7 separate regions of the Homo sapiens genome follow, and regions 2, 3, 4, 5, 6 and 7 are each linked to region 1. The links are contacts of gene promoters, found by promoter capture Hi-C in blood cells and fetal thymus (Javierre and others, 2016). All regions are on one chromosome and are shown on one strand. Each heading gives the region's core, a stretch centred on a gene start or on the middle of the fragment in contact. The rest is flanking DNA. Distances are from core to core; before and after follow the strand shown. Region 1 holds the start of MARCHF3 (membrane associated ring-CH-type finger 3). Region 2 overlaps PRRC1 (proline rich coiled-coil 1). Region 3 has its middle 18 kb from the start of PRRC1. Region 4 has its middle 46 kb from the start of PRRC1. Region 5 overlaps MEGF10 (multiple EGF like domains 10). Region 6 overlaps MEGF10 (multiple EGF like domains 10). Region 7 overlaps MEGF10 (multiple EGF like domains 10).

Evidence for each region. Contacts are between HindIII fragments. The CHiCAGO score rates a contact against its expected background, and 5 or more counts as called.
Region 2: a fragment that was not itself captured here is called in contact with the fragment with the promoter of MARCHF3 in region 1 in 2 of 17 cell types (erythroblasts and total B cells); the score reaches 6.0 in erythroblasts.
Region 3: a fragment that was not itself captured here is called in contact with the fragment with the promoter of MARCHF3 in region 1 in 3 of 17 cell types (erythroblasts, M1 macrophages and naive B cells); the score reaches 6.9 in erythroblasts.
Region 4: a contact is called between a fragment that was not itself captured here and the fragment with the promoter of MARCHF3 in region 1, in 1 of 17 cell types (naive B cells). The highest score is 6.0, in naive B cells.
Region 5: a contact is called between a fragment that was not itself captured here and the fragment with the promoter of MARCHF3 in region 1, in 1 of 17 cell types (megakaryocytes). The highest score is 5.8, in megakaryocytes.
Region 6: a contact is called between a fragment that was not itself captured here and the fragment with the promoter of MARCHF3 in region 1, in 3 of 17 cell types (M1 macrophages, M0 macrophages and M2 macrophages). The highest score is 8.2, in M1 macrophages.
Region 7: a fragment that was not itself captured here is called in contact with the fragment with the promoter of MARCHF3 in region 1 in 1 of 17 cell types (M2 macrophages); the score reaches 6.0 in M2 macrophages.

What each region holds. Positions count from the first base shown.
Region 1 is chr5:127,028,984-127,032,048 of GRCh38, reverse strand. It overlaps MARCHF3 (membrane associated ring-CH-type finger 3), which reads left to right and starts at 1,491. Exons shown (of 5, transcript NM_178450.5): 1 at 1,491-1,699. It overlaps LOC105379163 (a long non-coding RNA gene), which reads right to left and starts at 706. Exons shown (of 2, transcript XR_007058920.1): 1 at 1-706. RefSeq lists an enhancer at 609-1,153 and a silencer at 1,150-1,529. The HindIII fragment of the contact is 7,560 bases long and covers 1-3,065 here.
Region 2 is chr5:127,531,419-127,534,483 of GRCh38, reverse strand. It overlaps PRRC1 (proline rich coiled-coil 1), which reads right to left. Exons shown (of 9, transcript NM_130809.5): 6 at 698-861. Among named protein-coding and RNA genes, the nearest start is that of PRRC1, 15 kb to the right of the region's middle. The HindIII fragment of the contact is 651 bases long and covers 1,296-1,946 here.
Region 3 is chr5:127,497,728-127,500,792 of GRCh38, reverse strand. No RefSeq gene overlaps it. Among named protein-coding and RNA genes, the nearest start is that of PRRC1, 18 kb to the left of the region's middle. The HindIII fragment of the contact is 4,735 bases long and covers 1-3,065 here.
Region 4 is chr5:127,469,967-127,473,031 of GRCh38, reverse strand. No RefSeq gene overlaps it. Among named protein-coding and RNA genes, the nearest start is that of PRRC1, 46 kb to the left of the region's middle. The HindIII fragment of the contact is 1,881 bases long and covers 538-2,418 here.
Region 5 is chr5:127,451,564-127,454,628 of GRCh38, reverse strand. It overlaps MEGF10 (multiple EGF like domains 10), which reads right to left. Exons shown (of 25, transcript NM_001256545.2): 23 at 19-63. Among named protein-coding and RNA genes, the nearest start is that of PRRC1, 65 kb to the left of the region's middle. The HindIII fragment of the contact is 2,246 bases long and covers 513-2,758 here.
Region 6 is chr5:127,430,869-127,433,933 of GRCh38, reverse strand. It overlaps MEGF10 (multiple EGF like domains 10), which reads right to left. Exons shown (of 25, transcript NM_001256545.2): 14 at 425-571. Among named protein-coding and RNA genes, the nearest start is that of PRRC1, 85 kb to the left of the region's middle. The HindIII fragment of the contact is 2,716 bases long and covers 135-2,850 here.
Region 7 is chr5:127,403,353-127,406,417 of GRCh38, reverse strand. All of the region lies in intron 8 of MEGF10 (multiple EGF like domains 10), which reads right to left. Among named protein-coding and RNA genes, the nearest start is that of PRRC1, 110 kb to the left of the region's middle. The HindIII fragment of the contact is 7,427 bases long and covers 1-3,065 here.

The sequences.
Region 1 (3,065 bases), core at 242-2,741:
ATGGCATTGAAATAACACCTTGCAGCTCCCTTACATGTGAATAATTGCCCATACTGAGAGACTAAAACCCTTAGGACTTCTGGGACCTGAATGAGGCAATGGTCTGAAGTGGGCTTGCGCTGGAAGCAAGACGTAAGTGGTGAAGGTGAGTATCAGGGCAGCAGGTTGACCCCTTTCTTGTTATGAGCATGCATTCCTTCATTCTTACTAATACGGGTTAGGTGCCTACCCATGGCAAGAGCAGTTCTAGGCAGGGAGAGGCCCCTACCCACCCACAGCTGACGGTCTAGGGCTTGTTTACATTCTAGGTTTCAGCGGGAAAGCAAGAACACCCAACTCCCTGCTTTTGATTCTATGTTAGTAGCTCAGCGCGCCTGTGCGAGCACGTGCTGCAGCCAGGGTAGGGGCTCAGAAACTGGTTGACAAGATGAGCAGTGGGGTCCTAGGGGGTTGGGCGGGAAGGGCCCACAAGGCCATATTCCAGGCTGTTCGGCTGCGAGTGACCCCTGAGAGGTCGGGATCTCCGAGCTCGTCCGATGTCTCCATCCCAGCCAGGAGCTTGCGAAGGGGAAGGAGGGCGGAAGCAGAGTGGGACAGATGTGGTTCGTTCTGGGGCTTCCTGTCCACGAAGATGGATAATTCTAGCGACCCGCCTGGGATTTTGGAATCCTGGCGGACCCAAAAGACAGCAGAAGTCACCGCAGAGGATGCCACCCCGCACGGCAGCCCGCCCAGAGCGACGGTCTCACAGGTTCCGGCGCCGTCGAGCGCCCAAGCCTCCTGTTGGCCGCCAGCTGTGTCCGCGACGCGCTGGGTCGGGAGGAGGAGACCCGAGGCGCCGGTAAGTCCCCCGCTGCAGGTGGCCCGGAGGGCAGGGGTGAGGACGGGGACGTGTACTGAACTTTGGGAGGTTTGCGGGGCTGGAGTTTTGTTTCAGAGATAGCCAGATCGAGATCAGAACGTTTTCCAGAGAGCCCAGGTTTCCACTTGTGGCTGGGCGACCCGGTCCGGAATTCATCCTTTCTCGGCCCTCAGCTTCCTCCGGGCGGGGTTCCGATGGGGCAGCTAAGTTCCGCGCCTCCTGCCGGTGCCAGATACTGGCGTGTCGACCCGCGCTGCGGTTGGCTTCTTGCTCCACAGCGCTATGCGCGCGGCGGCTCCGAGGGCTCCTGGTCTCTCTCAGCCAACGGCCTTCTGGGGCCGCCGCCTCCCTCTAGAGCTGCTCGGGTCCCATTGCAGAGAGTCCCGCAGCGCCCGCCGGCAGCCACGGCACTTCGCAATAACCAACTTCCCCGCCGCCGGCGCGTCCCGCCAGCCTGCCCTCGGCCGCAGGCGACTGGACGGCGGTTACGGGGCGGTCCCAGCGCCACCACGACTGGCTGTCGGCTCCGCCAGTCATGGGCTGATGACGCCCCGGGGCTGGCTCCGCCCCTAGCGGCAGCCCCGCCTCCCCTCCAGAGCCTGGTCGGCTTAGCCCTGCTTTCCGCCTCACTCGTTGAGCAGGTCCGTGAATTGTCAGCGCGCTGTGGGCGACTGTGTGGCCGCGGCGGCCGCCAGGCTTGCCGCACTCCCCCTGAGGTGCCCGCCGGAACCAATGTGCCCTGGTCCACTGGGCCGTGAGCAGCCACCGACTGGGGGCAACTTGGCACTTAGAACCGCAGCAGGGACGTCGGTTTGCTATCGGGACTCGGCGAGGACGGTGAGTGGCCGCGCGCCGGGCTAGCGGCTCCTCTCGGCGCGGTTCGGCGGCGGCGAGAGGGGACGGGACGCGTCCTGGCGCTCGGCGGTCCGTTCGTCCGAGCGTGACCGCTGTGGGGAGGTCAGGGCTGGGCGGGATTTACTCCGTGCCAATATCCCCACTCCCGAACTTCTTCTTGTCAAAGCATCCCAACTCCGCCCGGGACGCGGTTCCAGTCCGCACCAACTTGGCGTAATTGACATGGGTAGGTGGGGCCGGGACGCGTCCCCTGCCCCTCTGCGGCAACGACATGGAGCGCTGGGGCGGCCTCCGCGCCCGCGGCGTGCGGACCGCGGTTCCTGAAAAATTACCCGCGCTGTGCGGTACGGTAAGACCCGGCGTCCGCGTCTGGATCTCAAGGCTGAGCGAGCGCTCATCGGGCTCAAGGTGGGTCTCAGCGCCAGAGAACTGGAGTACCAGCCGGGTTCTGTAGCGGGGGCTTCAGTGCTCTGCAGCTACTGAGAGGAATTGAGAGCACTGCTGGGCTTTGAACTTTCTAAAGTAATTGCTTTCTATTAGCACTTGAATCCATGACCCTCCTGAGGTGCTCGGACCTCCACATCCACCCGCAAGGGGTGTCCGAAGGACTTCGTTAGGACCAGGCGGGAGCTGCTGTCGGTTCTGGTGCCCAGTGCCTTGGAGAATCCTAGAGGCTGCGAAAGGGATTGCCAGCCTGGTCGGTTGGTGTTTGTTTGAGCACCTGCGTGTTTAAGTGATGAAGTTGAGTCAGGAATTGACAGCAGAGAACTCAAGGTTAAACCTGACACTCCGTTTGTGACTCGGTCTGGGTTAGATTGTTTTCCCCCCTTAATGGTAAGGGGGTAAAAGCAGCTTGTTTTTCTGAGACCAACTACATGCATGTAGTTTATATTATGTGCGGAATAAACAGAATTCAATACGATATTTTCTTACAATTCTTATTTGACATGAATAAGAGCTTTTGAAAATACTAGACAGAAACAGGTCCAGAATTTGGGGATGTTTAGACCTTTGAAAATACATGAAAATGTTGAGATATATAGTTCTGTATGTGTATATGAAGATGTAGATGCGCATATACACACATACATACGTGTATATGTGTGAGTGTGTGTATATATAAAATTAAAAGGTGAATGAGGTAAATATATGAAGGGGAAATTCAGCCTTGAACTTCCCTTGGGTCACAGAGATGGATCCTCTGAGCTGTGGGGTGTTAGTGAGTGTGTATGCGTAAGCATGTCTGCATCTGCCTGGTCTGTCTGGGTCAGAGTATGTCCATGAACTTTACGAGCGTTCAGTTCAATACCACTCAGTGCAGAATCCGCGTTCCTGTTTTACAGCCCAG
Region 2 (3,065 bases), core at 372-2,871, 500 kb before region 1:
TTAGCACGAGCCTGAAAGCACTATCAGTAGAGTGCTGGACATCAAAGCCTAACTGAGGTAGACTTAACTGAATGTGAAAAGGATATGAGAAAAGTGCTGCCAACTCCTTGGAGTTTAGCTGCAAAAGGAAGCAAAATAGGTCATTAAGTTATAGAGGAAGGGAGGTCAAAGAATTTGTTGGGGTTTCCTTTGGTTTTTTCTTTTTTTTTCAAGGTGAGAAAGATGTTTGTATGCCAATGAACTGTTAATTTGTTCTTGCATGACTGTATGCTGGTAATAACACAAAGAGAGGAAAATAAAGTATGAAAGAGAGGACGGAATTCCTGGAACTTACATATTTTTAAGCATTATCAATAGGGATAATAAAAGCTTATGGGATTCAAGGGATATTATCATCTCAGTAATTGATTTGAATGTTAATGCTGGATTAAGAAGATCTCTTTTAGGACTAACTATTCCTTTTGTGCTCTCTCAATGTTTCTTTCCCTCCCACAATAATCAAAACCTATCTTAAATTTCTTTAAATTAAAACTCCACTATATCTTCATAATACGATAGGGCTGTCTACTAAAAGCAAAGTTCATTGTTATTTCAGTATGTAAAAGTCTATTAGCTCCATAGAGACAACAGATTATCAGAATTGTGAAAAAATTAAATGCCAGTTTCCATGTCCTGAAAATGGTGTTCTGTTACTCACTTTTAATCCAGCTGCATAGCCCACTGGTTGTGGGGCAATATTGGACTGTCCAGCTTCCCCTACAACCACAGCTAAGCCAAAGACCTCCTGGAAGGCATCTCGGACAGCAGCAACTTTTACTTCTTTATTTGAGGTCACTACAATATCCAGTTCACCTCCAGATTCTAAAAAGACCAGAGGAAAATTTAACTTTCAAATTAAAATAATGAAATTCTCATAATTACTACCATACCAGGTGCTAACATCTAATATACATAATTATTACCAGTTTCATAAAACCATGCAAGATATAGATCATTATCTTTTTTATATGCTTGAGAAAACTGAGGCCAACAAAGTTTTGCCCAAGGTAACGTATCTACTTAGCACTAATGTCAGGACTCAAAACTGACATTACATATCACAAGCCAGAAATCACATATCTGGCTTGTGAAGTGTAAGTTACATATTTAGTATACTCCACGGAAAATTAAAATAAAGACTTACTGATAGTAAGTGATTTGTCAATGAGTTGCAGAGAAGTTATGTACTAAACAAGCACTACCATGAAATATACTTTTTAACCTAGAAAATAGTTTAAATATGGGGTCATCAAGCTTTTTATTAAATATCCCCACAATGTTCTGAGCATACACCACAAATAGATATTTATCAATTATACATGTACTACTGCCCTAATATAAATATGCAAGCATATATGAAATTGAAATAACACATAAAACTTAAAATTTAAAATATTAAGAGTAATACGAAATAAAAATATTTTCAAATATTTTTAATTTTTCAATTACTTAAACAACCTAAGTACTACTATTTCTAGACAGATCAATTTGACCAAATGTTTCATTATTTTTAAAAATCTTAACCAAACATTTCTGTGATATAATGAATTCAAAGCCCTTGTTCTAAACACAGCACATTTTGATATTTGGCATTAATAGTTATCACCGGCAAAAGAGATTTTTCATGAAAATTGTTTATAATGTAAAACATTTTGCCCTAGAAACAAGGTTGTTTTTCCCTAATAAATATCATGTGGAACAGGGAAAGATATTTTCAAATATTTGGGTTTTAAAAATAATGGATCCCTTTTTCCTGACTGACATAATGTCTCACAGATCACATCTGTACTGGATACTTCAGAAGTTACTAGGACATAAAAGAGAAGAAGAATATACTTTTTTTTTCACTTTTTTCCTCCACATGGGACACATCTCTCGACCTTAGCTAAGTACTGCTCCATTAAGCTTCAGCTCAAAATGGCTTTTCAGCTTGTGATGAGTAGTCCTGCCATTTCTAATACTTTTTGAGTTTCTTGACACATACGAAATTGTTACATCAAATGATTTCTAGAATATTTGTGTAAAAATACCTTAAGATGGCCGGGCGCGGTGGTTCACGCCTGTAATCCCAGCACTTTGGGAGGCCTAGGCGGGAGGATCAAAAAGTCAAGAGATCGAGATCATCCTGGCCAACATGGTGAAACCCCATCTCTACTAAAAATACAAAAATTAGCTGGGCATGGTGGCGTGCACCTGTAGGTCCAGCTACTCAGGAGGCTGAGGTAGGAGAATCGCTTGAACTCAGGAGGCAGAGGTTGCAGTGAGCTGAGATTGCACCACTGCACTCCAGCCTGGCGGTAGAGTGAGACTCCACCTCAAAAAAAAAACAACAAAAAAAAAAACCTTAAGATTTACTTTGAGTTGTTTTGTTAGATCAGAATGGTGATGCTTTGCTGTCAGTAAAGATGTCAGCTTTCTTAAATTCGATTTTATTACTTTTTAAAGCTGATAAAGTTATGACATTTGCTAATAATAGAAATTTCATTTCTGTACCTTTCTTTTTTCCCCTTCGGTGTTACACATTTTTCTTGATGGCTCTACCTTTATCATTTACTAGCTTCTTTACCTTGTGGAAGTCACTGAGCTTGTTTCTTTGTAGAAAAATGCCTGCTATCCAGCCTGGCCAACATGGAGAAACCCCGTCTCTACCAAAAATTAGCTGGGCGTGGTGGCACACGGCTGTAGTCCCAGCTACTCAGAAGACTGAGACATAAGAATAACTTGAACCCAGGAGGCAGAGGTTGTAGTGAGCTGAGATCACGCCACTGCACTCCAGTCTGAGTGACAGAGTGAGACTCTGTCTCAAAAAAAAAAAAAAAAAAAAAAAGAAGAAGAAGAATAAAAACACCTGGCACCTCATAGGGTTTGCTCTAAGGATTAAATAAGGTAATTGCTTTCATAGTCTAACATAGTACAGCCATTAAAACAGCAAAAGCTCCAAAAATATTAATTCCTTTTTTTCCTTCATTCAAAATATGTACTTGCAAAGAAAAGAACATATATGGTGGACTCCAATTTTGAATTCT
Region 3 (3,065 bases), core at 209-2,708, 470 kb before region 1:
AAAAATATCTTGGCAACTGTTGTAACTACTGCCAGACACTCCAACAGTCTGATTTTGTCATGAGATTTTATTTCTCCTTAACGAAGCAACTAAAAATCAGTAAAAAATCCTACTTGTACAAAATTCTAACATAAAATCTTAACTGTGTAAGCATTTTTAAAAGTCAAAACAAATTTAAGAAATGAAATTTTGCATCCATGTTATCTTTGGAAGAATAATGATCAAATCAAAACTTCAACTGTAATACCATGTTATTATGGTCATCAAATCCAAATTTGACAAAACATTAAGCAATGTAAATTTAATTTCAGCAATAGAAAATAGAAAATTTTTTCCTCAAAATGAAAAAATTATTGATTGTTTCATGAGACTCCATATGCAGGTTCAATTCCTGTATGCTTGCATTGTTGAGGGTGAGATTAGGTTGAAGGTTAGCAGGAAATTAATAAGGTGGGATTGGGCTGGCCCAAGGAAACCTGGAAACTTTGTTATGAACACATGGTGTTGGGTTTTCTAGGAACCCCGGAAACAAAGAACAACCACTGCTGAAGCTACAATTTTGTAAATTGTTAGTGCCTGAAGTATTGCTCCCTCCACTTTGCTTGTTTTTTTTTAATTACAGCTATAAGAGGTATAGTTGACATACAACTCATCCATTTAAAGTATACAATCCAATGGCTTTAGTATATTCACAGAGCTGTGTATCCATCACCGTAATCAATTTTAGAACATTCTCACCACCCCAAAAGGAATCTCTATTCCCCTTAGTCATGGGCAGGTGATGACCTGCCCATACCCCTAGCAGACCTCACCCCTAGTGCTAGGCAACTATTAATCTGCTTTCCATTGCTACAGATTTGCCTTTCCAATTTACCTATTTGAAATGAATGGAATCAGACAATATGGGGCCCTTTATGACTGGTGTCTTTCACTTAACATATTTTCAAAATTTATTCATGTATCAGTACTTTATTTCTTATTATTGATGAAAAATATCCTACTGTATGAATGACACACATTTTATTCATCCATTCATCAATTGATGGGCATTTGGGTTGTTTCCGCTTTTTGGTTATTATGAATAAGGGTGTTGTGAACATTCATGTACAAGTTTTTATGTGGACATGTGTTTTCATTTCTCTTGTGTATACACTTCAGAGTCTAATTGCTGGATCATAGAGTAACTCAGTGTTAAATCTTTTGAGCAACTGTTGGTCTGTTTTCATAAATGGCTGCAATGTTTTATGTTTCCACCAGCAATATGAGAGTTCCAATTACTCCAAATCCTTGTTAACACTTGTTATTATCTGTTCATAGTATTCCTTCATAATCCTTTTTATTTATGCAAGGTAATGTCCTCTGCTTCATTTCTGATTTTAGTAAGTTAAGTCTCCTCTGTTTTTCTTTGGTCAGTTTAGCTGAGGTTTGTCAATTTTGTCTATTCTTTCAAAAAACAAAGTTCTGGTTTTGTTGATTTTCTTCATGGTTTTTCTAGGCCCTGTTTCATTAATTTCTGCTCGAATCCTAATTTTCTTCCTTGTTTGCATTGCATTTAGTTTTCTTTTCTACTGTCTTAGGTGAAATGTTAAGCTGTTGATTTGAGGTCTTTCTTCTTTCTTAATATAGGTATTTACAGCTATACATTTCCTTTTAAGCACTGCTTTAGCTACATCCTGTGAGTTTCATTATGTTGTGTCTTCATTTTCATTCATGTCAAATTATTTTCTAATTTTCCTTGCTATGTGCTTATCATTTTTTTGAAGATTGTCTAAACTGTCCAATTTGACAGCCACCAGCCCCATATGACTACTTAAATTTAAATTGAAACATAATAAAATAAAATAAATTTGTTCTTCAGTCATACTAGCCACATTTCAAGTGCTAATTAGCTACATTTGGTGAATGCCTACTATATTTGACAGTGGACAAAAACATTTCCATCATTTTACAACATTCTGTTGGGCAGCACTGCATAAGCATTCTCACAGAGTGGAATATTCAAAGATGAAGTGTCAGTTCACAAGACAGCTTACTGCTCATTTTCAAATGCCACATAGTGTATAAATTTCAATCCAGTTCAGTGCCTCATTTGCTTAATATATTCTCTTATTCACAGTAGTCTCTCGACAGGAATGCTTTTTATGTTATGCAGCCTCAAAAGTTGATCTCTTTGTTAGATCATCTCTGGCATCTTCAACTACACTTTTGCTTCTGCTACTGCTCCTGGTGATTTCTTGCCCATCTTCTCCTACATTGTTTAGTAACTATCAAGTAGTAATGTTCATAAAGAAAGGGAAAGCTAGAAGAGTTAATAAATGCTGAATGTCTACTGTGTACCAGGCTCTCTCTGGAGCTTCTCATGTATTAGCTCACTCAAATCCAAAATAATTCTAGGAGGTAAATATTTTTATCTTTATTTTCTGATGAGAAAAAAAAATCAGTTTCTAAAATGTCAGGACAGAAGCCCACACAAATTATAAGTGAGAGAACCAGGATTTGAATCTTTGTTAGGCTCCAAAACCCTCTCTCTCTTGCTTATTTAATTAATCAACTTTATTTTTTAGAGCCATTTTAGGTTTACAGAAAAAATAAGCAGAAGATACAGAGGGTTTCTATTTATCACCCCAATCACAGTTTCTCATTTTATTAACATCGTGCATTAGTGTAGTAAATTTGTTACAATTAATGAACGAATATTGATGCATTATTATTAACTAAAATGCATAGTTTACATTAAGGTTCACTCTGTGTGTTGTACAGTTCTATGGGCTTTTGCAAAGGTATGATTCATATATCCACCATTATAATATGGTACAAAATAGTTTCACTGCCCCAAATTTCCCTATATTCCAACCATTCATTCCTCCTTCCCTCACTTTGAATGCCTGGAAACCACTGCTCTTTTTATTGTCTCCATAGTTTCGCCTTTTCCAGAATGTCATATACTTGGCATTATATGCTGTGTAGTCTTTTCAGGCTGCTTTCCTTTACTTGGTAATATGCATTTCATGTTTCTCTATGTCTTTTCATGACATGATGGCTCATTTTTTCTATCACTGGAAAAT
Region 4 (3,065 bases), core at 229-2,728, 440 kb before region 1:
CCAGTAACAGTCACAAAGGAAATTTGTATTGCATTATGTAATATAGTAATACTTCATGTATGTTGCTTTATTGAGCTTCTCAGATACTGCATTGTTGTTGTTGTTTTATCCAATTGAAGGTCTGTGGCAATTCTGCATTGCGCAAGTCTATTGGTGCCATTTTCCAACAGCGTGTTCTCACTTTATAACTGTGTCACATTTTGGATATTCTTGCAATATTTCAAATTTTTTATTATAATTATATCTGTTATGGTGATCCGTGATCAGTGACCTTTGATATTACTATTGTAATTGTTTTGGGGCACCACAAACTATGTGGATAGATGATGAACTTAATCAATGAATGTTGTATGTGTTCGAACTGCTACAACTGGCAGTTCCCTTGATTTTCTCCCTCTCCCTGAGCCTCCCTATTCCCTGAGACACAACAATATTTAATTAGGCCAATTAATAATCCCACAACGCTTGTAAGTGTTCAAGTGAAAGGAGGAGTTGCATGTCTCTTGCTTTAAATTAAAAGCTAGAAATGATTAAGCTTAGTGAGGAAGGTGTGTTGAAAGCCAAAATAGGCTGAAAGCTAGGCCTCTTGTGCCAAACAGTTAGCCAAGTTGGGAATGCAAAGGAAAGTCCTTGAAAGAAATTAAACGTGCTACTCCAGTGAACACATGAGTGATTTAAAAAGTGAAAGAGTCTTATTGCTAGGAGAGAGAAAGTTTGAGTGGTCTGGGTAGAAGATCAAACCAGCTACAACATTCCTTTAAGCCAAAGCCTAATCCAGAGCAAGTCCCTAACTCTCTTTAGTTCTGTGAAGGCTGAGAGAGGTGAGAAAGCTGCAGACCAAAAGTTGAAGCTAACAGAGGTCCGTTCATGAGGCTTAGGGGAAAGAAACCATCTCCATAACACATAAGGGCAGGGTGAAGCAAGAAGTGCTGACGTAGAAGCTGCAGCAAGTTATCCAGAAGGTCTAGCTAAGATCACTGATAAAGATAAATACACTAAACAACAGATTTTCAGTGTCAGTGAAACAGACTTGTATTGAAAGAAGATGCATCTAGGACTTTTATAGCTAGAAAGGGAACATCAGTGTCTGGCTTCAAGTTTTCAAAGGACAGGCTGACTCTGGTTAGGGGCTAATGCAGCTGGTGACTTTAAGTTAAAGCCAATGCTCATCTACTATTCTGCAAATCCTAGTACCTTTAAGAATTATGCTAAATCTAGTCCTCCTGTGCTCTATAAATGTAACAGCAAAACCTGGATGATGGCGTATCTGTTTACAGTATGGTTTACTGAATATTTTAATTCCACCACTAAGACCTACTGCTCATAAAATAATATTCCTTTCAAAATATTACTGCTCACTGACAATGTACCTAGTCACCCAAGAGTTCTGACAGAGATGTACAAGGATATTAATGTTGTTTTCATGGCTGCTGGTACAATATCCATTCTGTAGTCTATGGGTCAATGATCAAGTCCAACTTCAAGTCTTTTTATTTAAAAAAATGTATTATAGAGTTATAGCTGCCTGGAAAAGATTCGTCATTCTAGATGCCATGAAGAACAATTGTGATTCATGGGAGGAGGTGAAAATACTAACATTAATAGTAGTTTGGAGGAAGTTGATTTCAGTCCTCATGGATGACTTTGAGAGGTTTAAGACTTCAGGGAAGGAAGTAGCTACAGATGTCATAGATATAGCAAGAGAACTAGAATTAGAACTGAAGACGTCACTGAATTGCTGCAATCTAATGTTATAGCATGTAAGGAGTTACTTTTTATGGATGAGCAAAGAAAGTGATTTCTTGAGAAGAAATCTACTCATAAAGATGCTGTGACCATTGTTGAAATGACAATAAAGGATTTAGAATATTATATAAATTTATTCTTAAAGAAGTGGCAGAGTTTGAGAAGATTGACCCCAATTTTTGAAAGAAGTTCTACTATGGGTAAAATGCTATCAAGCAGCATCACATGCTACAGAGAAATCTTGCATGAAAGGAAGAGTCAATCAATGCAACAGATTTCATTGTTGTCTTATATTTAGAAAACATCTCAGCCACTTCAACCTTCAGCAACAACCACCCTGATAAGTCAGCTACCATCCACATTAAGGTAAGATCGTAAACTACCGAAAAGATGATTTGTCGAAGGCTCAGCAGTTTTTAGCAATAAAGTATTTTTAATTATGTTCATTTTTAGATATAATGCTATAATGCACATAATGCACACTTAATAGGCTATAGTATTGTGTAAACATAACTTTAATATACACTGGAAAACCAAAACATTTGTGTGACTCACTTTATTATGATAGTATCTTTATTGCAGTGATCTGGGACCTGCAATATATCTGAGGTATATGCCTGTATGTAAAGTTGCATGACAGTGTTTTAATAGATTGTGCTTAGTCTTTAAGCTTTCACTTAATGGCAATGTGGCTTCTTAATATTTATGATATTTAATACTGATTTTTGTCTTAAAAGTGTCTAAAACATTTAGTGAGTTACATAATGTTTTTATATTGGCTCACGCCATCAAAAACTTTCAGTGGGAACCTATCTTACATGTACCATGTGCTGATGTCAAAGAGAAGTGAGTTTTCTCACCAAAGGAAAAATGCTCTTTTAACAACAAAAAGGCATTTTTCTATTAATTAATATACATGGTTCCTCACTCTGGGTTTAAGGGTATTCATTGGCAATCATCTTATACTTTTCTCTAAGAGGGAAAAGAGCAATATTGTAAGCCTCTGTATCTTTTTTCTTGCACTGTTTTCTCCCTTTCTCCACTTTATAAATAATGCATCGTTCCTGAAGTCCAACATTTCAGAGCCTGTCAAGGGTCTCTCTCAATATCGCAGGCAAGTAAGAAAAATCTAGCCTTTCATTCTGGTGTTTTAAGATTACCTTTTTTGAATGGCTTAACTCTAGTTTGTTTTCTGCCAGAAGTAAGATCTACCTGCAGTAAAAATAAAATATTCAGTACACTTTATTTTTACTTAATTTGCAGCTGAAACCAAGGATAAAGGCCAACCATTGCTATTTATCAATGCCCAGCTAATTAGT
Region 5 (3,065 bases), core at 386-2,885, 420 kb before region 1:
TTCAAATTTACATGATACCTTTTAAGGATTTTCCCATATAGCTTCTGTCAAGTCCAAAAGCACCTGTAATAAAGGAAGAAAAAAAACACCCAGTGAGAACTGAAAGGAAGAAAAACCCCATCCAATATCCCAAGGTCCTGGAAGAGGATCTCCCACTGCAGCAAACAACCAGGCTGCTGCTCTTCAAGCCTTTACACCAGATCAGTTGTCCCAGATGTCCCCAGTGCCTAGAATTAAACACACACACATTTGGTCATTCACCTAGTCATTTACAGTGACTCAGGAAAAGCTAGTCAAAACAGGATAGAAACTGAGGCCCAGAGATAAATCAGTATACTTGATTCAAGGTTGCACAGTGAAAAGAAAGGATACAGCCAAGACCAGAGTTGACATTTCATACCTACGTGCAGCTCTTTCAAGGCTCTGATGGTTTTCAAATAGTTTTCCCAATAATCATTATTCGGTTATATTATTGTCTTCACTATAAGCATGTTTTCTGGAGACTGGAAGCTTCGAACACTGTTGACTAATACTTTACAGGTGATACTAGCTCTTGCCCTTCTTTATTCAGCTTTTCATAATTTGACTTTTCCAGGTATGGGGACATAATTGTGTATGAGCCTAGATACACACAAAAAAACCTGCTTTCTCATTGGAAAATGGCCAGCCTTTATTTCGTGGGTGTGGGGAGGGAAATAGGAGTGTTCCGGCTCATGCTGGAAAAATTGAGCATGTAGGCAAGAGAACGTGCAACCACTTACAGAAATCAATCAGGTCACAAGCATGTTGTATAAAATATAAGCATTTAATCACAAATTCGCACTACTAAAAACAAAATAAGACGACATTACCTAGCCCATTTTATACTATCTGGTGTATACGTGCAAAATTGCATTGTTAATACTGCATGGGAGTCAATTATTCTATTGGAGCTGTGTTGTGACAAAAAAGGAGAAAACTATAGATTAGGAGACAAAGGAATTACATGTTATAACTTATTGGCCATAGGACTTTGGGCAAGATGTTCCACCCTCTGAGTGTCAATTTTCTCATCTCTAAAATGGGGAAAACAAAATTTGCCTTCCAGCCTTCCAGGGTTTTTGTCATCATTAAGTGAAACAGAGCATATGAAAAGGCTTTGTAAACTCTGAAGCACCATACAAATGAAGTGTGTCAATTACTCTAACGCTCAGTGCATTATACTACCCTCTGCTTCAGTCTTTCCTTAAGCACTCCAAGGCATTTTCAATTGCCTTTCAAAAGAATATTACAGGCCGGGTGCGGTGGCTCATGCCTGTAATCCCAGGACTTTGGGAGGCCAAGGTGGGTGGATTGCTTGAGCCCAGGAGTTCAAGACCAGCCTGGGCAATATGGCAAAACTTCATCACTAATCTTTTGAAATACAATACAATAAGAATGTTACAGACTTAGGTTAAAAGCAGAGAGTAAAGTAACAACTAGCAATGAACATTCCAGGTAAGTATTTGAGAATGTTAAGGAAACGATATCCTTGCCACTGTGCATGCATCTCTTAGAGAGATGTTAAGCTCAAGTTCTGATGTTGGTGTCCCATGGGGATCACTGAGTAAGCACACACTGTTGTGGAGAAGGAAGCAGCCTCTCCTAAAGGGAGAGGGTCTGTCAGATATCAATCATCGTGGGACAGGAAATGGGAATATTTTCCTCTCTCAGGCACACTCTCTTGCATCTGGGTTGTGAAGAGTCTAACCAAGCCCATAGCTGGGGGGAAGGGCACACGGTTATGCAGGGAGGCAGCATAAATGGGTGTGTAGTGAAGAATTAACCTTATCAAAGAAAGGGGTGGCCTTTGCCCTCAGCTCCTGGGAGGTGATCTTGAAGTCCTTGGACTGTCCTGCCCAATAGGAGTGCTTTTGTTCACCCGGAGGCCCAGGGATACACCGGATAGTGTAACCAAGTGATTTATGGTGGGGGGTTTGGGCCATATGGTATCATCTCCACCTCTGGAAGGGGAAAGACTAAAGGTCAATCATGTCTACATGATGGGAGTCAATCATGTCTATATGACTGAGCCCCCCATAAACTGTAACCATGAGAATGCCCATTCAGTGAGTTCAGTGACTCCTTGTAGCAAAATGTTGATCCTGAGGGTCGTCTTGGTGATCTTTCAACTTGTAGCTGATGTCAGAAGTCAGGGTGGTCTTGGGAATTCCCAGACTTTATAAAGAGGACCCATGAAGATGGGGCACAGTCTGTGGCCTCTGAGAACAGCTTTATCAAGGAGCTCTGTCTATGCTCCTCTTTGCCAAATACTCTTGGCCATCTCCAGACTGTAGCAAAGTCTTATTAAATGCCCATTTTAATCTTAGCTGTGCAGTGGCTAGCCTTCCACCAAGGTGTGAAAGAGAGAACCAGCATGGAGCAGATAGTAAGTTAGGGAATAAGAGCTGGGGCTATGAGGCCAGACACCCCTGCCAGATTCTGTCTTCATTGCCTTGGAGGATCAGGGAGCTGTTTTAATGAGGGAGCAGTCAGGATTCCCTATAAACTCCTATATACACCCATCCCTGGAGCAGGGCTTTCAAATGCTTGGTTTAATTTAATTCACAAAACGAGCCAGTACATGCTTATTACTCCCATTTCACAAATGAACGAATCAAGGGTAAGTGAGGGTAAGTGACTGGCCCAGTGCTATATCTCAGGGTCTTTTGTGTCTAGTTCAAGGCTCTTTCAGATACCATGACGACAACTATTCCATCATTTAAAGCACCTGTAAGCTTTATCATCCATAACATGCCTGACTCTGTCCTTTGTGAAGAACTTTTTCTGTGCAACAACTTTAAAGGGATGTTAAATGCAGAATTATTCCTGAGTGAGAACAAACCAAGAAGATCCAGAATTTCCAATGAAGATCCTAGGTTCCTAACACTCAGTCCCTTGGGTCTCATTGAGCCAGAAAGCAGAGACATTTACATGTGACCAGTACAGTGATGCCGTATCTTCTGGAGTCTTCACAGTGGTCTAAGATAGAACAAGATGACTTTTCTTTCACTAGCGCTGGTTGGTATTTTGCTGAATATCAATTC
Region 6 (3,065 bases), core at 243-2,742, 400 kb before region 1:
ACTACTAGCAGGATGAATGATTTGCCTCAAGGTTTGGCTGATGTTGACGTCTGGTAATTGAGGTAAGGCCAATGCCAAACTGCTGAATAACATATTTACAGGTCAGTGAATTTCTAGAACACCATTCCAAAGCTTTCAGGAAGGGTGAAGAAATATATCCTGATGGTTGTGCCAATGAGGCAATGAAGTAATTATTGAGAAGAAATGGTTAAATCCCCATCTGTTAGGTTAGTTCTGAAGGCTGGAAAGAATGAAGCTCTTAGGGAACACAGTTCTGCAAAGGACAAGTGAACCATTACACTCTCTTTTGCCTTCAACTGCAACAGGACATCACTATAAACTGAGAGGTGGGACAGAGATCATTATTCGATACATGGTGCCCAGGGAAGGGAAGGTGGAAATTACTGCCTAATGAGACACTTACTCCTCTGACAAGTGGTGCCTCGGAAGCCTGGTGCACACTCGCAGATGCCATCATCAGGGGAGCATGAAGCCCCATTTTTACAGTAGCAGGGCAGGGAGCAGTTGGGGCCCCAGCGTCCCTCAGCACACACGCTGTCACAGTGGACACCTGAAATAATGCACATGGGGCAAGGCTGAGTGAGAGGCAGTGCGGAGTTTCCGCAGATGCTAATTCATAGATGAGGACTAAGCTCACAGTGTTAAACCTGAGGATCACCAGCAGCAATGAATGGAGAGTTACCATCTTATAAACATCAATACACAGTATCATAACATTAAAATAATACCCAGACCGATTTTCTATGGAGTCATGAAGAACGAATAACAAACTTTTGTTATATTGATTTTTCTTCTTCAGGAGGAGGCAATAAAGTGGAAGCCCAAGGGCTCTGTCTATTGCAAGTAAAATTTATCAACAATACGATATCTTTTAGCCCTTGGTGACTTCCTCCTCCTCCTCCCATTCTTTGTTTTCACAGAGAAATAAAGTGTAAAAGGATAAGGCAATGAACAGTTCCATAAAATGTTTTACATAAAGAAAACCCTCCCCTGGATGAAACAAATAAACATAATCTTAAAATAACTTGATGGTGCATTGTGCAGAACAGAAAGATGCACTGACACGTGCCACCAAATTCCTCCTTAAAAATCTTACCTGACATTGGAGAGATATTGGCAGAATATCACAACTGACATTATTTGTAGCTGTTGTCTATGCTATCGATTATTATGAAACTGTATGCAGTTGTTTAACTCTAATTTTAAATACTGAGAAACTTTAGAATTAAAAAAAATGACAAAAGGAAACAGAAAGGAAAGCTAAGTTTGCAAAAATAAAACTAAAACCAGGTTTTATTTGAGATAAATAAAAGTCTCTTCTGTACATTCGTATTGGAAATACAACAGGGGCCTCTTTCTTGCCAGAATTCCTCACAACTCAAAGAAATGTTCTTCACATTGAAAGGCAATAAGTTATAATTAGTAGTGAACTGGCAGTTGCTGGCCTCAGACCAAATGAAAACACATTAAGAGCAAGCACGCAGACCCTCCAGGATTCCAGAATACTAACAACCACCCAGTACCACGATGCTGAGACGGTCATGTCTTGTGTTACAGTTTTGGCTTCTAAAGTAATCAGGCAAAAAGTCACCACAGTCTGAACCTTAACATGGAAGCAGTCCCAAACTATAATGTGAATGTTGTTAATTGGTACACCATTTCCGGTGAACACTGGAATAGCAAGAAGATCCACTTTTTACTGTTCCTGTTTTTTTCCTTCTGAAAGTCTCCCACGTGGTAAAGGCCATTAAATAGGCAAGAAAGCATGCAGACCTCATTGTGTCTAGCTTGACCCAACAATAGACTTTTATTTCATTCGGACCATGGGCTGAAGAAAGGAGACCAGGTCTGTTCATAAACCAATTGGGGTTTAAATGTTTCCCATAGAATAAAGTATGAAATCTGGGCCTACTATGTTGATTTTTTTCTTGCAATCATAAATATATTATTTTTTTTTCAAATCTCTTTTGAAAATCTGAGATGAAATTGCAAACTCTACCCTCACCAGATGTGATACATCAGCCACAGAATCTTACCTGGAATTTATATCCACACCTATACTGGGCAGAAGCATCAAACATATTAAGCAGTAAACCACTTCAAAATGAGGCTGCAAACCTAAACTTTGTTTTGAGAATTTAAAGAAAGTACCAACAAGGGTAACCTGCTAAACACTTCGCTCTCAGTTCAAATTCAGGTCCTAGACTCTGACCGTGAGCCAAGACTCCTGCTTAACAACAGCTAAGATGGGGACACCTGCTTATCACAGAGACTTAGACAATCAACCCAGGGCATTTTGGTCTGATGCCATCAAGACAAATCCCAACGAAGATTTTGAAGAAGTGGAAACTGAGTAATTATCCTGTTAATCTGACTGATCATCATCCTGAAAAAGCAGTCCCGATTTTTTATGCTTTTTTGTTAGGGTGGGGACTTGGGGGACAGGTAAGATTTAGCCATTTATGATGACTTAGTTTATCAACTACTTGCCAAATCACTACTTCAAATTGCACTTAATAAATTCAGTTAAGATGGAATGGAGTACACTTTAGGTCAAAAGTATTTGCTGCTTTTTTATATCATAGGTTATCATGATTTATGTATAGCTTAGCCTATTCTCAATCAGAGCATGGTAAGAAAAATGACTACAGGCCAGATAGGCAAATCTGAATAAAGAGATCCTCTCTTTCATAACTTATTCTTCTTCCCTTAAGAGGTTTGTTCAGCTGATTAGCCTAGCCATCAGTCATAATCAACTATATCCTGGTAATGTTTGTATAAGTAACAAGGCCCACCCTATAGCAAGAAGATCCACTGCAGAGATAAGCTTGTTTCATATGGTTTACCCATCATTTCATTTCCAGAGAATCATAGCAAATTCTATAGATCATTGATCAAACCTTCTGTGTCCAATCATATAAGCATCTTTCAACAGACCCAAGCTTACTTGAAAATAACTTTTAGTTTAGAATTGCAAAGAAATGTTTCCTTTGAATATAAATTATAAAAATTCTATTACCAACACCCTCTTAAAAATTCAAGCC
Region 7 (3,065 bases), core at 380-2,879, 370 kb before region 1:
TATAGAGCCCAGACAGGGATAACAGCTGAAAACAGGAATCATGTCACTGGCTCATCAGAAAAACAATAGTTACAAGAGCAGCAGGTCGAGAAGCAAGTTCTCTCTTTACTTCCCTTCTCTTTCTCTGGCCCCTGGCCTTCCTTGGCTCAAATGTAAAATTCATCTGAAAATTAACTGTTATTCCCTTTCCCTGTACTCCAGATGAAATAGGTATAAGCTCATTTGCCTTGTATGTTTATTGTTCTTGTGCTACCTCTAATTTGAAATTTAAATCCCTAGAGGGCAAAAAAAAATTATATTGCCATTTTAGTGGCCTAAAATATGACAAGAAACTATTATTAAGATAGTGCTTGGTCTTGTGTCTCCCTTACCCCAACTCATTTTTCTATAATAAGATGTTAAATGGATCCAGAAATTATCTAACAGCCTAATCTATCCAAAATACAACCTAAAACCAGGATGTCAGTTACAAAATCTGAGTAGTCCAATTACATGTTATAAAAACTGTGTACTAAGGATGTCAATAATTCATTGCATGAAAAATTAAAGGAAAAATATGTAATTATATTAGCAAAAGAAAAAAAGGCATTTAATGAAATTAAGCAGCTACTATTAACAAAATTTTTAATTAAAAAAAGGGATTTAAAAAACTACTTAAGAATGAAGAAAATAATTTACTAAATACCAATAGCAAACATGAGACTATACTGAAGCCATTCCAATAAATTTGGAAACAAGACAGGGATTTTTACTTTTACTGCTGTTTGTCAACATTAATTTGGAGGCTCAAATTTATGCAATAATTCAAGGAAATGAAATAATCATTATACATATTGAAAAGAAAAGACTAACTTATGTTTATTTGTAGATGATATGATAGTATAACTAAATAACTCCAGAGTTTGCTAAAAACAACATTAAAATTACCTTGAAAGTTTGGTAGTATGAATAAATTAAAAAGTAAATAGTCAAAAGCAAGTTTTTCTTCAACCAGAAATATCCAATTACAGGCAGAAATGAAATTTTAAAAAATTACAAAATACTCAGAAATAAATTTAATAAGAAAGTACAGGGTCTAAGTTGGAGGCAGGAGGCAACAAACATGACAGTATCTTATTAAAAGTCATAAAATTAGACCAAGATTTAGAAAGAGAAAAAATAAGGGGAAAAAAGTTGAGGGAATTCTTAATTCAAAGACATCATAAAAAATAATGATAGCTAATATTTATGCAGCTTGTAAACAGCACTCAAACTGATAATCACTAGTATTTACATAGTTCATAGAAATTGCTCTAGAATAATAAAATCTGATAAGTTCCAGGGCTGTTTTAAATGTTTTAACACACTAACTTATTTAATCCTTACAACCCTAGAGAGAAGCACAATTATTATTAGGATGTTACAGACAAAGGTGTTTCCAACGCCTGTAATCTTAGCACTTTGGGAGGCTGAGGCAGGCAGATTGCCTGAGCTCAGGAGTTCGATACCAACCTGGGCAACACAGTGAAACCCCATCTCTACTAAAATACAAAAAATTAGCCTGATATGGCAGCATGCGCCTGTAATCCCAACTACTAGGGAGGCTGAGGCAGAAGAATTGCTTGAACCTGGGAGATGGAAGTTGTGGTGAGCCGAGATCATGCCACTGCACTCCAGCCTGGGGGACAAAACAAGACTCCATCTCAAAAAAAAAAAAGTGTTTCCAGGGACACATTTACCTAAACCTAGATTCCAAATAATTGTTTTCAATCACTATGACCTTCTGCCTCTCAAGTCTCTTCTCAAATCCTACACACACATCCAGTGAGCCTGGCTACCTAGTCTTCCAGGACATGACAGATTCAAGAGCATTAAAAGAAGGATGCACACATCATGTTAAAAATTTTCTGTAGAGCAAAGAATACAATCAACAAAGTGAAGAGCCAGCCCACAGAATGAGATAAAGTATTTCCAAACTATCCATCTGACAAGGGGTTATAGGTTGGTGTAAAAGTAATTGCGGTCTTCACCGTTACTTTCAATGGTAAAAACCGCAATTACTTTTGCACCAACCTAATGACCAGCATATATAAGGAGCTCAAACAATTCTATAGGAAAAAGTCTAATATTCCAATCAAAAATAGGCAAAAGATTTGAATAGACATTTCTTGAAAGAAGACATACAAATGGCAAACAGGCATATGAAAAGGTGCTCAACACAATTGATCATCAGAGAAATGCAAATCAAAACTACAATGATTTGCATTTATATATGCAATGAGATATAATCTCAAGCCAGTTAAAAATGGCTTATATCCAAAAGACAGGCAACAGCAAATGCTGGTGAGGATGCAGAGAAAACGGAACCCTTGTACACTGTGAGTGGGAATGTAAATTAGTACAACCACTATGGAGAACAGTTTGGAGGTTCCTCAAAAAACTAAAAATTGAGCTACCTTATGATCCAGCAATCCCACTGCTGGGTATATACCCAAAGAAAGTAAATCAGTATATGGAAGTGATATCTGCACTCCTATGTTTGTTGCAGCACTGTTTACAATAGCTAAGATTTGGAAGCAACCTACGTGTCTATCAACAGACGAAAGGATAAAGAAAATGTGGTACATATACACAATGGAGTACTATTCAGCCATAAAAAGAATGAGATCCAGTAATTTGCAACAACATGGATAGAACTGGAGATCATTATGTTAAATGAAATAAGCTAGGCACAGAAAGACAAACATCACATGTTCTCACTTATTTGTGGGATCTAAAAATCAAAACAATTGAACTCATGGACACAGAGAGTAGAAGAATGGTTACCAGAGGCTGGGAAGGATAGTGGGAGGGTGTGGAGGAAATGGGGATGGTTAATGGGTACAAAAAAAATTAGAAAGAATGACTAAGACCTACTATTTGATAGCATATAGGGTGACTATGGTCAATAGTAACTTCATTGTACTTTCTGAAATAATTTGAAGAGTGTAATTGAATTGCTTGTAACTCAAAGGATAAATACTTGAGGGGATGGATACCCCATTCCGCATAATGTGCTTAGTTCACATTGCAAGCCTGTATCAAAA